Regions from separate parts of the Homo sapiens genome. Here regions 1, 3, 4 and 5 are each linked to region 2. The links are contacts of gene promoters, found by promoter capture Hi-C in human tissues and cell types (Jung and others, 2019). All regions are on one chromosome and are shown on one strand. Each heading gives the region's core, a stretch centred on a gene start or on the middle of the fragment in contact. The rest is flanking DNA. Distances are from core to core; before and after follow the strand shown. Region 1 has its middle 110 kb from the start of TNKS. Region 2 holds the start of PPP1R3B (protein phosphatase 1 regulatory subunit 3B). Region 3 has its middle 92 kb from the start of TNKS. Region 4 has its middle 59 kb from the start of CLDN23. Region 5 overlaps MFHAS1 (multifunctional ROCO family signaling regulator 1).

The links. Contacts are between HindIII fragments. The study calls those that stand out against the background at their distance.
Region 1: a fragment that was not itself captured here is called in contact with the fragment with the promoter of PPP1R3B in region 2 in 2 of the 25 tissues and cell types used here (aorta and lymphoblastoid cells).
Region 3: a fragment that was not itself captured here is called in contact with the fragment with the promoter of PPP1R3B in region 2 in 1 of the 25 tissues and cell types used here (lymphoblastoid cells).
Region 4: a fragment that was not itself captured here is called in contact with the fragment with the promoter of PPP1R3B in region 2 in 1 of the 25 tissues and cell types used here (spleen).
Region 5: a contact is called between a fragment that was not itself captured here and the fragment with the promoter of PPP1R3B in region 2, in 1 of the 25 tissues and cell types used here (hippocampus).

Annotation. Positions count from the first base shown.
Region 1 is chr8:9,446,060-9,448,759 of GRCh38, forward strand. No RefSeq gene overlaps it. Among named protein-coding and RNA genes, the nearest start is that of TNKS, 110 kb to the right of the region's middle. The HindIII fragment of the contact is 5,447 bases long and covers 1-2,700 here.
Region 2 is chr8:9,149,267-9,151,966 of GRCh38, forward strand. It overlaps PPP1R3B (protein phosphatase 1 regulatory subunit 3B), which reads right to left and starts at 1,392. Exons shown (of 2, transcript NM_024607.4): 1 at 1,297-1,392. PPP1R3B-DT (PPP1R3B divergent transcript) reads left to right here and starts at 2,459. Exons shown (of 5, transcript NR_183348.1): 1 at 2,459-2,650. RefSeq lists enhancers at 792-1,740, 1,787-2,026 and silencers at 1,377-1,646, 2,147-2,396. The HindIII fragment of the contact is 27,491 bases long and covers 1-2,700 here.
Region 3 is chr8:9,462,165-9,464,864 of GRCh38, forward strand. No RefSeq gene overlaps it. Among named protein-coding and RNA genes, the nearest start is that of TNKS, 92 kb to the right of the region's middle. The HindIII fragment of the contact is 4,800 bases long and covers 1-2,700 here.
Region 4 is chr8:8,759,789-8,762,488 of GRCh38, forward strand. No RefSeq gene overlaps it. Among named protein-coding and RNA genes, the nearest start is that of CLDN23, 59 kb to the left of the region's middle. The HindIII fragment of the contact is 4,104 bases long and covers 1-2,700 here.
Region 5 is chr8:8,784,530-8,787,232 of GRCh38, forward strand. It overlaps MFHAS1 (multifunctional ROCO family signaling regulator 1), which reads right to left. Exons shown (of 3, transcript NM_004225.3): 3 at 1-1,526. The coding sequence ends at 1,493. Among named protein-coding and RNA genes, the nearest start is that of CLDN23, 84 kb to the left of the region's middle. The HindIII fragment of the contact is 5,004 bases long and covers 1-2,703 here.

The DNA.
Region 1 (2,700 bases), core at 39-2,538, 300 kb after region 2:
ATCTTCAGTCACTGATACCCTTTCTTCCAGTTGATCAAATCGGTTACCGAAGCTTATGTATTCATCAGGTAGTTCTCGTGCCATGTTTTTCAGCTCAGTCAGGTCATTTAAGGACTTCTCTACACTGGTTATTCTAGTTAGCCATTCGTCTAATCTTTTTTCAAGGTTTTTAACTTCTTTGCGTTGGGTTCGAACTTCCTCCTTTAGCTTGGAGAAGTTTGATCGTCTGAAGCCTTCTTCTCTCAACTCGTCAAAGTCATTCTCCATGAAGCTTTGTTCCGTTGCTGTCAAGGAGCTGCGTTCCTTTGGAGGGGGAGAAGTGCTCTGATTTTTAGAATTTTCAGCTTTTCTGTTCTGTTTTTTCCCTATCATTGTGGTTTTATCTGCCTTTGGTCTTTGATGATGGTGACATACAGATGGGGTTTTGGTGTGGATGTCCTTTCTGTTTGTTGGTTTTCCTTCTAACAGTCAGGATCCTCAGCTGCAGGTCTGATGGAGTTTGCTGGAGGTCCACTCCAGACCCTGTTTTCCTGGGTATCAGCAGCAGAGGCTGCAGAAAAATGAATATTGCTGAATAGCAAATGTTTCTGCCTGATGGTTCCTCTGGAAGCTTTGTCTCAGTGGGGTACCTGGCCATGTGAGGTGTCAGTCTGCCCCTACTGGGGAGTGCCTCCCAGTTGGGCTACTCGGAGGTCAGGGACCCACTTGAGAAAGCAGTCTGTGCGTTCTCAGATCTCAAACTCCATGCTGGGAGAACCACTACTCTCTTCAAAGCTGTCAGACAGGGACATTTAAGTCTGCAGAGGTTTCTGCTGCCTTTTGTTTGGCTATGCCCTGCCCCCAGAGGTGGAGTCTACAGAGGCAGGCAGGCCTCCTTGAGCTGCGGTGGGCTCCACCCAGTTTGGGCTTCCTGGAGGCTTTGTTTACCTACTCAAGCCTCAGCAATGGCGGGTGCTCCTCCCCCAGCCTTGCTGCCACCTGGCATTTCTATCTCAGACTGCTGTGCTAGCAATGAGGGAGGTTCCATGGGCGTGGGACCCTCCGAGCCAGGTGCGGGATATAATCTCCTGGTGTACTGTTTGTGAAGACCATTGGAAAAGCGTAGTATTAGGGTGGGAGTGACCCAATTTTCCAGGTACCGTCTGTCACCCCTTCCCTTGGCTAGGAAAGGGAATTCCCTGACCCCTTGAGCTTCCCACGTGAGGCGATGCCTCGCCCTGCTTTGGCTTACGCTCAGTGGGCTGCACCTACTGTCCTGCCCCCACTGTCCAATGAGCCCCAGTGAGATGAACTTGGTACCTCAGTTGGAAATGCAGAAATCACCCATCTTCTGCGTTGCTCACGCTGGGAGCTGTAGACTGGAGCTGTTCCTATTCGGCCATCTTGGAACCTCCCCAGATGATCTCCCCACACCTAATTTTCTAATTAAAAAATTATTTAGAACTCGGCTGAAGATTCCTTCAAGAAGCAACATGAACCTGATCGTGGAGAGTAAGAAGGAATTCAGAGAAAAAAGGAGCTAGAGATGTCAAACAAAATGTCCCTGCCCTCAAGTGGCTCACAATCTATTAGCTGAGCATAGGAACTTCTGTGAGTGAATGGGATAAAGAATATCCCATTAAAACTATGTCTAGATATTTATTTCTTGCCCCTCAAAGGCATTTTTGAAAAAGCACAGCAGTTGGCCGGGCACAGTGGCTCACGCCTGTAATCCCAACACTTTGGGAGGCCAAGGCAGGCGGTCACGAGGTCAGGAGATCGAGACCATCCTGGCTAACACAGTGAAACCTCGTCTCTACTAAAAATACAAAAAATTAGCCGGGGGTGGTGGCGGGCGCCTGTAATCCCAGCTACTCGGGAGGCTGAGTCAGGAGAATGGCGTGAACCTGGGAGTCACAGCTTGCAGTGAGCTGAGATTGCGTCACTGCACTCCAGCCTGGGTGACACAGCCAGACTCCATCTCAAAAAAAAAAAAAAAAAAAAAAGAAGAGAAAAGAAAGAAGGAGAGAAAGCACAGCAGTTGCAGAGGAGTCCAGCCATTTCACAAGGAAGAAGAGGAAGCACACAGATAACTAATAGCCAAACATAAATGTCTACGCTTTTCGTTTGGATGGGCCATGGGCCACGTTCCAGCTAACATGATTCTTTCATCTCTCATCTCTTTCCGCCCTTTCCTTTCCTCCTGTGTTCTGATCCTGACTACCACCAGGCATCCTCAGAAAGGATTTTTCATGCTGATAATTAGACTTGATGTATTTATGGAGCTCTGTTTTCCCAGAGGATCATCCCATCTGAGGCTGACATCCCTTTGAAAGTTTGGAGAATGTGAAGCTTGGAAGAGCTAAACAGTTCCCAGAGACCAGAACCGCAGGGAATTAAACTTCAGGATGATCTTAAGATATTTAGTGCTCTTATCCTCCATGTGCAGAGTATCTCTTTGGAAAAATTTTGGTGGCAAAAGTCATTAATGAATCTATATAACACCCTGTTTAACCAAAGTATGGATCCAATTTTTAACTTGCTGTTTTGATCTCTATTAGATTTGTGGTTTGCAGAAGTTTGGACTACTTTACCCCATAACAAAAAAGGAGTCACATACACACACTGTAAGATGTTGAAGTCTGAGTCACTTGAGCTATCTTTTTATTGCACAAAGCTCCTGGGCGATCTTGCATGAATCATTGTTCAACACTGAGAAGT
Region 2 (2,700 bases), core at 142-2,641:
GAGGCGGGCAGATCACGAGGTCAGGAGATCGACACCATCCTGGCTAACACGGTGAAACCCCGTCTCTACTAAAAATACAAATAAAAATTAGCTGGGCGTGGTGGCGGGCGCCTGTAGTCCCAGCTACTCAGGAGGCCGAGGCAGGAGAATGGCGTGAACCCGGGAGGCGGAGCTTACAATGAGCCAGAGATGGCGCCACTGCACTCCAGCCTGGGCGACAGAGCGACACTCCGTCTCAAAACAAACAAACAAAACCAAACAAACAAAAAAATCAGATGCACAAGCAACCCACCAGGAACACTGAAAGCTGCCGAACTGCATTCAGTAAACATTCACAACCAGGTTATAATTTTCATTTTTAAAGACATGGCCATCTACCTCCCTCCAACAATTCTGTGTTCCCTTCCAAAAGGTTTCACTGATCCAGCATGAAGAGAGTGCATGTCTTTCCCCTTTGTACTCAGACCATGGGGGCCTATTCACAGCCTTAAAGGCTCCTTGTACCCCTTGATCCTGTCCCCATCATCCAAAGCATCTTGGAGACTGACATTTGTGAATACAGTTGCATATTCTAGGAAAGAGGCAAGTTCAAATGACACAGCCCCTGCCGTCTAAAAACGTACGAGGGAAAACAGAGTACTAGGCTAAGAATGCCCGCACCTTGCTTTGCTACTTGAGCGAGTCACTCAGCTGCTCTGGGCTTGAGGTCCCCTCCAAGGTCCCTGCTGGCCCTGACATTGTATGTTGCGACCCACCCCTGGTGCCGCTTCTCTTCCCACTAACTTTTTTTCCTAAATACCTCAACTGTACTTTTGTGTAAGTCCTCCAGCTGTCTTCACTTTAGTTTTGGCTCCTGGACAACTCTGCCCAAGGAAACATTTCCTCCTCTCCTCCTCTTCCTCCCAGACCAAAGCTCTAATTGTCTCTTCTGCTGCACCCTGGGTCTCCCAGGCAGGCCCCCGCCACTCAGACCACAGGTTCCAACACCTTCCAAGTCTCCAAGTTCCCAAGTCCAGTCTTTCCTCTGTTTTCTCCTCTTTTTCAGAAAACAGTGCTCTGACAGGCCCCAAATCTTCCAGTAAGTCATTACCGGCCCCCACTCCCTCTTTTGCAGCTACTGTGCCTTCCACACCCCTTTTTCTGGATTCCAAAGAGACGCAGGAGCAGGCCAGTGCTCTCCAGGCTGGAGGATCCCACAAGTTACTCTCCGACTCTGTCCCCTCCGTCCAGTTTGACCAGGGCTGCACTCCGCCCCCAACCTCCCTACAAGCCTCCTTGGCCTCGCGCCGCACCCACCTTTTGGGCCGCGGAGAAGCCCCCTCCCCAGCTCGCTCGCCGCATCGGAGAGCCCGCAGGGTTGTGGCAAGCGCGACTACGTGAGCGTCGGTGTGTCCGGGAGGCAGGGCCTGGGCTGGGTTCCCGGAGATGTCGGCGGTGGGAGGAAGACGACGAGGAGGAGGAGCCCGTTATCGCACCCGGGCGGGGCCGGCAAAGGGGCAACCCCGGCCGGAGCAAGCAGCGCGACACCAGCACCCCCGCGCGGCCGCCTGGCCTCCGCCAGCCCGGGACGGGGATCGTGCTAGGTCCCGTCGCCCTCGGTGGCCTGAGAGCCTACCAAGTGTATTTCCTCGCGTTTTATAGGGAAAATAAGGCCCGGAGAGAGACGAAGCGGCTTGTCCTTAAGCTCCAAACCCCACTACCCAACTTTGGAGAAGTCTCCAGACCTCTCGGGACCCGGGGCTGGGAACTTGTGCTAGTTTCGAAGCCAGAACAACAGGTGGTAAAGGGATCAGCCGCCGCAGCCGCAGCTCCCGGGTCACGGTCGCAGCCGGGCCCAGCAGCGCGGTGGAGCACGTGGGCCCGGGAGGCGCTTCCCAGCTGCGGTCCCTGGATCGCCCTCTCCACGCTGAAGCAACAGCTCCCTGGGGCCAGCTACCTAGAGTGTTCCAGCCCCGGTGTGCCAGTGCAAGTCGCACGGTGAAAATGTAGGTGACAGGAACCCAAAGAGGTCCCCGCTGCACGCCCTCGCCTTGTTGTCCCCAGCCCTTCCCTCGGACTCGAGACTTGGGGAGCTACGTACCGGGTTCAGCTCATAAGTCCCGAGGGCAGACGCGCCAGCCCGCGGCAGCATACGCCCTGGGGGAACAGGGACAGCTGCCGTGACGGCAGGAGCTGGGCCCGGGCTCGGGTTCGCGCCCCCCGCGGGCGGCGAAGTCCGTCCGTGCACGAGAGCTGCGCGGTCACCTCCTCCCTCCAGCAGTCACCCGGGACTCGAGCTCCCCGCGGCCGCGCTGCCCCCTTTAACTTTCCTGCCAGCTCTCGGGACCCCGGGGTCCATCCCAGGCCCCCTGCCACGTGAACGCCCCCCGCAGCCAATGGGCGCGCCCGGGACTCCAGCCGCCGACCAATGGGCGCGCAGCCACGGCGCTGGGGAGCACCGCTTCGCCACGTGATCGGCAGCGCGCCCGGAGTGATCCGGCTGCGGGCCAGGGTCTGGGAAGGGGGTGGTGGGTCGCCGTTTCATCAGAAGCCGGAGGACGGGCGCCAGGGGGCAACTTCCTACAGGAGGGCGTCCCGTTAGAATGACAGGGCTTTTGCAAAAGTCTGACACCCGTGGCACAGAGCGCCCCAGATATGGAGGGTTTCACAGGTAGGTATACTTCAGAAGAAATTTCCTGACTTGAATCGGTTATAATCGCT
Region 3 (2,700 bases), core at 194-2,693, 310 kb after region 2:
GCTGCTATTGTGATAATATTATTACTAGATACGAATACACTCTTCATTCACCAATACTGATTCACATCGCTACACATAGCTGCAAAGGAAGCTGGAAAGTGTAGTCTTAATTCATTGGCTATATGTAAGCTAAACATCCAAAATTCTACTGCCAAGGAGAAGAGAAGAATGGATACTGGGCCCCAGCCAGGGATCTGTGCTCCAGCAGACTAAGCAAATAACCAGGAGAAAAATAAGAAATGTTATCAGAGGGCTAAGCGCAATAGAATATTTCAAGCCACAATGCCTTCAGTATTAAATTATTGCAAACATTTAAGAAACAAAAAAATCCTTTCATCATTAAAAAAAACTATTCCAAATTAACTTTTGCTGCTGACATGGCAAACTGAAATAATACTTTTAGTAAAATGATTTATAATATGTGTTAAGAGCCATGAAAAGTGTCTATCCTTGACTCAATAATTTCAATTCTATAAGTATATCCCAGAGAAAAATACAATTATAGAGGAATAAATCTATGTAATATACTTATCATTGCACAGAAATATTACTAACAGAAAAAAATTAAAATCACCAAAATATTCATTAGTATATCAGCCAACAAGTAAATTAGTGTCCACCTTCTTAATAAAATTATCATGTAGTCATTAAAAATAATTACAAAGACTGTTTTGTAGCATAAAATGTAGAATGTAGGCTGGGTGTGGTGGCTCACACCTGTAATCCCAGCACTTTGGGAGCCTGAGGTGGGAGGATTGCTTGAGCCCAGGAGTTTGAGACTATCCTGGGCAACATAGTGAGACTCTGTCTGTACAAAAAAGAAAAAGGAAAAATTAGCCAGGCGTGGTAGTGCACACCTGTAGTCCCAGCTACTTGGAAGCCTGAGGCAAAAGGATCACTTGGGCCCAGGAGGTCAGAGGTTACAGTGAGCTGTGGTCACGCCATCACACTCCAGCCTGAATGACAGAGGAAGACCCTGTCTCAATTTTTTTTAAAGGACAATGTAAAGATGCCAAGTGATGAAAACAGAATTCAAAAAACATTGTTTTAAAAAGAATGAATAGCAATACAATAATGACAGAAGTGATTGTTTTGGTGAATAGGATTATTGTTTATTGTTTTCCTCAAATTTTCTAAATTTTCTCTAATTATTTGTGTAACTGAAAAATTTTTAAATAACAAACAAAAGATTAAATAACAATAACAGCTGTATCTATTGGACTTCACTGCCAACATAGCAAACACTTTGGACTACTCTTTGTATATGTTATCTAATTTAATCTGCACATTAACTCCATAAGTCACTACCAATATAGTCCCAATTTTGCAATAGAGGAACCGAAGCCACAAGAAATGTTAAGTTCTTCACCCAGGGACACAGCCAGGACCATGGCAGAGAGCGTTTCAATCCATATATGTCTGACTATAGAATCCAACATTTCAAACACTGGGCTAAAGAGCAAAGAGTAAGTGAAAGAAATACAAATAGCAAGTAACATTTCATGAGAGAAATGAGTGGGTAAGGCAATTGCCCAGGAAATCACATTGAGGGGAGAAATGAATACAGCTCATAAATTCAAAACCAAAAGTCCACAGCCTTCTGGATGTCACAGGGCTTTTGGTATCGTATTTTAATGTTTAGACATTCAACATTTTAAGAGCTCACTCCTTTGTGGTCAAGCCCTTTGAAACAATGAGCTTTATGCATGGCTTGTTTTTGTGCCTAATGATCCGTGGTAGAAGAACTTACTGTCTCGGTGACCTCTGTCTCCTGGCGACAGTGAGGCCCACCTGGTCTTCCCAGCATCCCTGTGGTTATGTGGCAGTTTATCAAATGGCCACAAGCACAATAGTGAATCAGTATTGAATGACAATAATTTCAAAGGTAAGTTCAAAAATAAGCTCTTTCTAAAATTCTTTTCATGAGTCATACCACAAGAGTAAAAAACAGATTTTGTGAGCAAGGAGGTACTTCTCTCACACAAATGACAAGTTTTTATATATAATAATAACTTAGAGTTGCTAACCTCCATATGCAGGAATGAAACTATTCTGCATTAGGTCATCAGCAATTCAGCTCTGATCTTTCTATCTGTTTTGAAGAACCTTTCCTTCATCTGAGGTCAATGTTTGTAGGATCAGAATAACATCCTGCATTTTTAATGAGCTTTTCAAATCACATATTTTGCAAAAGGTCATGCCTCCTGTGTTATTTTTATTTCATTTTGGAAGGAAAGTTAAATGTTTATAGCTCAATGGGCAATTTTAAGTTCTTCTACAAGATCCTGTTCAAAGGAAATACATTAGAGTTTGTGTGTATTCTGTAAACTTGCATTTGGGAGAGAATATGATGTGCATATGTGTCCACATGGTGATCATAATTCCTCTAATATGATACCCTTGGGTTTAATCATACCATGTTAATTCAACTGGACTTAGAGTTCTAATTAATTTAAAATTCTAATACAAATTTTAATGAATTCCTAAGCAAAAGACCTTCCTTGTTCTTGAATAGGACATTTCAACATCATAATGATGTGAGTTCTCCCTGAGTTTAGTTATAAATATAATGCAATCATAGTTTTTAAAATAAGCTTTTATTTTTCTGGAGGTAGGCAAGTGGTAACAACATTCTTATAGAAAAATAAATAAGCAAGAATAGCTAAGGAAGCTCTGAAAAGGAGGAACTGTGAAAGTGAT
Region 4 (2,700 bases), core at 3-2,502, 390 kb before region 2:
CAAATAGACTAGTGCAGTCCTAAGTAAAATGCTTAGTAAATACTTACGACAGCATCAAGCTTGAGTTGTGTGGATGTCTAATGATCTGGAGCCAATGAATTGCTCCTCCCACCCCAGAAATAAAATAATATCTATCCATGAAAATAAACATTTCTCTAGAGTTCACTTAGAACTTTAGGACTCAGGTACATTTCAATAAATGTATATTTTTCTGATGGGAAATGGAAGGTAGTTCCATTACAAAGTAATTAGGAAATGCAAAGGAAGTATTTTATATATATATAATATTATTTATTATAAATAAGATATGTATATTATTTATTATAAATAAGAGATATGTAATATTATTTATTATAAATAAGATATATCTTATTTATTATAAATAAGATATATCTTATTTATTATAAATAAGATATATATAAAGTCTTACTTCACCACCTTCTGAGTCTTCTTTCCTATGCACCTTTTTCATATATCACCCTCAGTTATGATGTTAAAAATAAAAAGTATTCTTTTCCTTATAAAAGCAACACAAACTCACTCAAAAAGATTAGAAAATACAGAAAAGCATCAAAAAGAAAATAACACTGCCAATAATTTCATTATTCAGAGATGTAACTACCCTGGGGGATATGCCTTCAAAGTATACTTGCTGTTACCCCATAAGACAAACTTGTGGAAAAAGCCATACACTGGATGTGGCCCAAAAATCCAAAGCTTAAAGTCTGCTCTCTGATTTTCCTTGGCCCCACCTTGACTATTTTAGGATGGGTTAACTTAGGGGGAAAACACTGGAATCTTCCAAGAGTTTGGAGTTCCTGCAGAAAAGCCTGTTCCAAAAAAGTATGAAACCATCCTTGCCTTCCTGTAGGATCAAGGTGTGCTGGCACTGGTTTGCTCTCTCTGGCCCTTGACTTTGCTCAGGGATTCAGAGCCAGAGTCATCCATGAAGGCCCATCTTGCTGTGTTTCTTTCTGTTATCCTTAAAATAATCATTTGAAAATAAATAGGCTGTTGTCCCCACCACCTTGGGATTTTCCATTAAACCTGGCTTTATGGGCTGTGACATTCGTAGTCAACACCAGCAGAAGTCAATTCTGTAGCTTTGATGTTCTGCAGGGAGAGAGGAACCAGGTGACCAGCTGGGAGACAAGGCAATCTCAAATAAGGAACAAGTAATTAAGGGACGAACAGCAGCTGTGTTTCTTAAATGACTTTTATAATTTTAAAAATTTATAATTATAAAAGCTTTAAGGTAAAGCTTATTGTGGGTGTTTGTGAAACAGAGTGAAGTATTAAGGAGAAGGGAAAAATAACCCATCCTCCCAAATCTAAAGTAATCTGTTAGCTTTTTATCTTTTTATTTTATTTTATTTTATTTTATTTTATTTTTATTGAGATGAAGTCTTGCTCTGTCACCCAGGCTGGAGTGCAGTGGCATGATCTCTACTCACTGCAACCTCCACTTCCCAAGTTCAAGTGATTCTCTTGCCTCAGCATCCTGACTAGCTGGGACTATGGCACATGCCACCAAAGCCCGCCTAATTTTTGTATTTTAAGTAAGAATGGGGCATCACCATGTTGGCCAGGCTGGTCTCGATCTCCTCACCTCAAGTCATCTGCCCACCTCGGCCTCCCAAAATGCTGGGATTACAAGCATGAACCACTGCACCCAGCCTTATCTTTTTGAGACAGTCTCTCACTCCGTCATCCAGGCTGGAGTACAGTGGCCCGATCTCAGCACTCTGCCTCCCAGGTTCAAGGGATCTTCCCACCACGGCCTCCGGAGTAGCTGGGACAACAGATGTGCACCAGCATGCCTGGCTAACTTTTTTATTTTTTGTAGAGACAGGGTTTTGCCGTGTTGCCCAAGGTGGACTCAAACTCCTGGGCTCAAGCAATCCACCCACCTTCGCCTCCCAAAGTGCTGGGATTACAGGTGTCAGCCGTTGTGCCGGCCCCCTCTGTTAACTTTTTGTCTTGCATTTGTCTTCACGTGTGTTGAAAAATATTGTATGCAAAACTCACAACCTCATTTCTTTACTAAGACTGCATACAAATTTCTGTATATTATTAGAACAGTCTTCAGAAGCATCATTTTAGTGACATTTTCTATCACATACTGTGCTGAATCATTTTCCTGCTGTTGCTTTTAATTTTTGTTGGAAACATCTTTTATACATACATTTTTGACCATCTCTTTATAATGTTGGGATAGACGTCTGAGAGTAGAGTTACTTGATGAAGGGATTTGGATGCTTTAATGACTTTTAACAGATATTGCTAATTGCTTTCCATAGCGCTCCAACTTCCACTGCTGTAACCTCAGTGTGCTGTGACCTATGAGTCCAAAAAAGGCAACCTTTAAAGGGATAGTGTTTGAAAGCATCTATAGCACTACATGTCAAAAATAAAATGGGTTTACTAACACAATCCCTCTTAGCATCTGTATTTTATAATCCTTTTTTTTTTTTTTTTATGAGACAAGATCTTGCTATGTTGCCCAGGCTGGTCTTCAACTCCTGGGCTCAAGCAATCCTCCTGCCTCAGCCTCACAAGTAGCTGAGGTTATAGGCATGCACCGCCATTCCCAGCTACAGTCTTCTCAATGTATTGCAAATCTGTTTTGGATTCCGTCTGGGCAGTTTGGCCTCAGGAATGCTGCACTTCATAGTCTCATCGGTCCATGTTTCAAAGACA
Region 5 (2,703 bases), core at 25-2,524, 360 kb before region 2:
AAAAATCGGTTTGTGATTTCTAGCAGGGCAGTCGCTTGCTCCTTATTTCTTTTAAAAAACATGTTGAGACTTTGTATACTGTAGCCTTCCAAGAGTCAATACTTTACAAAAGAAGTAAAAGAGTAGCGAGTACCAGCAACTCACTCTTCTTGTCTGAGGCTGGCGAGAAGCAGTCAGTTTTATACATTTTCGATCAACCCACGGAGGAGGCAAATGTAAACAGAGTTTTTTACACTCTCCGAAAAACATGTTACTACTGTAGCATATGCTGTTTGGCCCAATTAAAAGTAGAATGGAGAGCAATTTGTTTGGTTGGCTTTTTAAGTTTTACCTTGTGAAGATTTTAAAACAAGGGTATTACTAGTTCTTGGCAGGAGACCGTCCAATCAGAGGCTCTGTATTTATAAATAACCCGTGTGGGATTATGCTCTCCAGTGAATGTAACTGGAGCCTAAATTCACAACCTTAAGATCTGACAGCCAGATGTGGAAGGTCTACAAAGAGCTCTGCTAATAAGTAATATGTTTGCAAAGTGCTCTGCTAAGTAAGGTACTTATTAAGCAGAGCACTTTGTAAGATTCAGAACTGACTCCTGATTATCTTAAGCCATTAAAAGACTCAAGTTTTGCATGGACTTTTTGTCCTCTTTGGCCCCTGAGTGTGCCCCATCTCTGCCCAGCACTAATAACACGTTGGAAGAGCAAAGGATTTCCCACCAGCGTGCCAGATGATTTATATAGGCAGGGACCTTCATTGAAAAGAAGGGAAGGGACACTGTCTTAAATGCACATTTAAGGTTCTTTCTGATTATTGGCAATCTCTATGAACCAACACTTAATCCATGGGCTAACAGAGAGATTTTTTTTTTAATGTGAAGAGGATTAAAGAATAAAGAAAAAACAAAAAAGTCTTATACTAAAATAAGAAATCAGCCCCATCTTGGCACAGTTCTCATGCAGAATATTGCACCCAGTGTGAACTAACGCTAGAAGCTTCAAACTGTATAAATTTAAATGTATTTGCATATTATAAAAATAAAGATAAACATATACATATTTTACACTAGTTATGGAACAGCAATGAACGTCAGTCGATCCCTCTTTCACATTTAACAGAACTGAAATCTGAGTGCTCTAAATACTGCCACCTGTACTGTAACTATGGCTTATATGTGCACGGAAAACAAAATCCCTGAGAAGCCATTCGACTTTTTTTTTTTTTTTTTCTTTTCTTCAAGTAGCGCGCTCCTTGGAGGATCACAGTTCTGAGGTTCAGGTTGTAAAACATTTGCTCCATGTTCTCGTCCATGCTTCCCCCCACCACCCCCTCCCCACCTCTTCCCCAGTCGTCCAAAAAGCACCCTGCAAGCACGCGTTGTCACTCAAGTTCACAGAACACGCTGGGGTGAGTGCAGAGGGTCTGCCAGGTGCAAAAGATGGTCCAGGTGTTCAGATGCTCTCTTTTCTCCATGGAAATTCCACAGCCACAAACGTCACTGGTTTCTGTGCTTTTCACCAACATTCTTCCTGTATGGGTGGACAACAAGAAAGCACAGAGATGACAAAAACGTACTGGACAATGCTACCCTCAATAAGAAAAGGAAGTGATGATAGAAATCTATTTTCTGCACATATTTTCATTTCTACTTCCAGGACTCATTATAAACATGTAAATGTCAGGCAACTTATGTCCCCACAAAGGAAAGAGTCATTTTAGCAGTCTATTTGCCAAACATTTCTGTTGGTGTGTTAAGCTCAGTTCAGCTATAAGAGGGAACTGTACTAACTGGCTGTCATCACTTATTCCACTGTAATTTTATAGCTTAACTAGACCTCTAACTAACAACCCAAAACTCTAAACACGGAACTGTTTCCTTTCAATAAACACACACGGTCACACGCAGACACACACCAAATAATCCTCTAGAAGAAGGAATATATACTAAAAAGTGAGATGTCTGTCTGCCTAAAATGCATGATTTTACTTAAAATGTTATAAGTTAAGTTGTCCACGCAAATCTGGAGTCTGATCAATATAGAATGAATAAACTACTGCAGCCTCAGCAAATAAAGCGGGATTCAGTTCCGATAAAATGGTTAGAGGAAAAAATATCAAGTGTTTTTCTCATTTTTGCTTCCCTACAATGACATGTGATGGGATGTTTTTGAAAGTGGTTTTTTTTTTTTAGCAACTTTTAATAAAATATACAAAGACATTGAAAGGAAAGGAAAAAGGAGTTACGATTCGTTTCCTCCAATCCCCCATCTCTCATTAGGAGAGACGCTGATTTCATGGACACTGATAATTCAGCATCTGCCTAAACACTTCTCCAGTCCATACAAGATTCAGTCATGGGCTCATTCAAGCATGATAATAACGACATCACCAAAACAAAGCAAAGCAAAGCAAAACAAAACAAAACAAAACAAAAAAACCAAAAACCTCTCATTTACTAACTACATGCCAGGAATTAGGTTGTTCACTCTAGTGCATTATTTATCTTCAACTCCTAATAATCCCACCATGTAAGCTCCATCTTACTCAGTATTATTATTATTTTTTTTTTTTTGAGACAGAGTCTCGCTCTGTTGCCCAGGCTGGAGTGCAGTGGCGCAATCTCGGCTCACTGCAAGCTCCGCCTCCTGGGTTCATGCCATTCTCCTGCCTCAGCCTCCCGAGTAGCTAGGACTACATGTGCCCGCC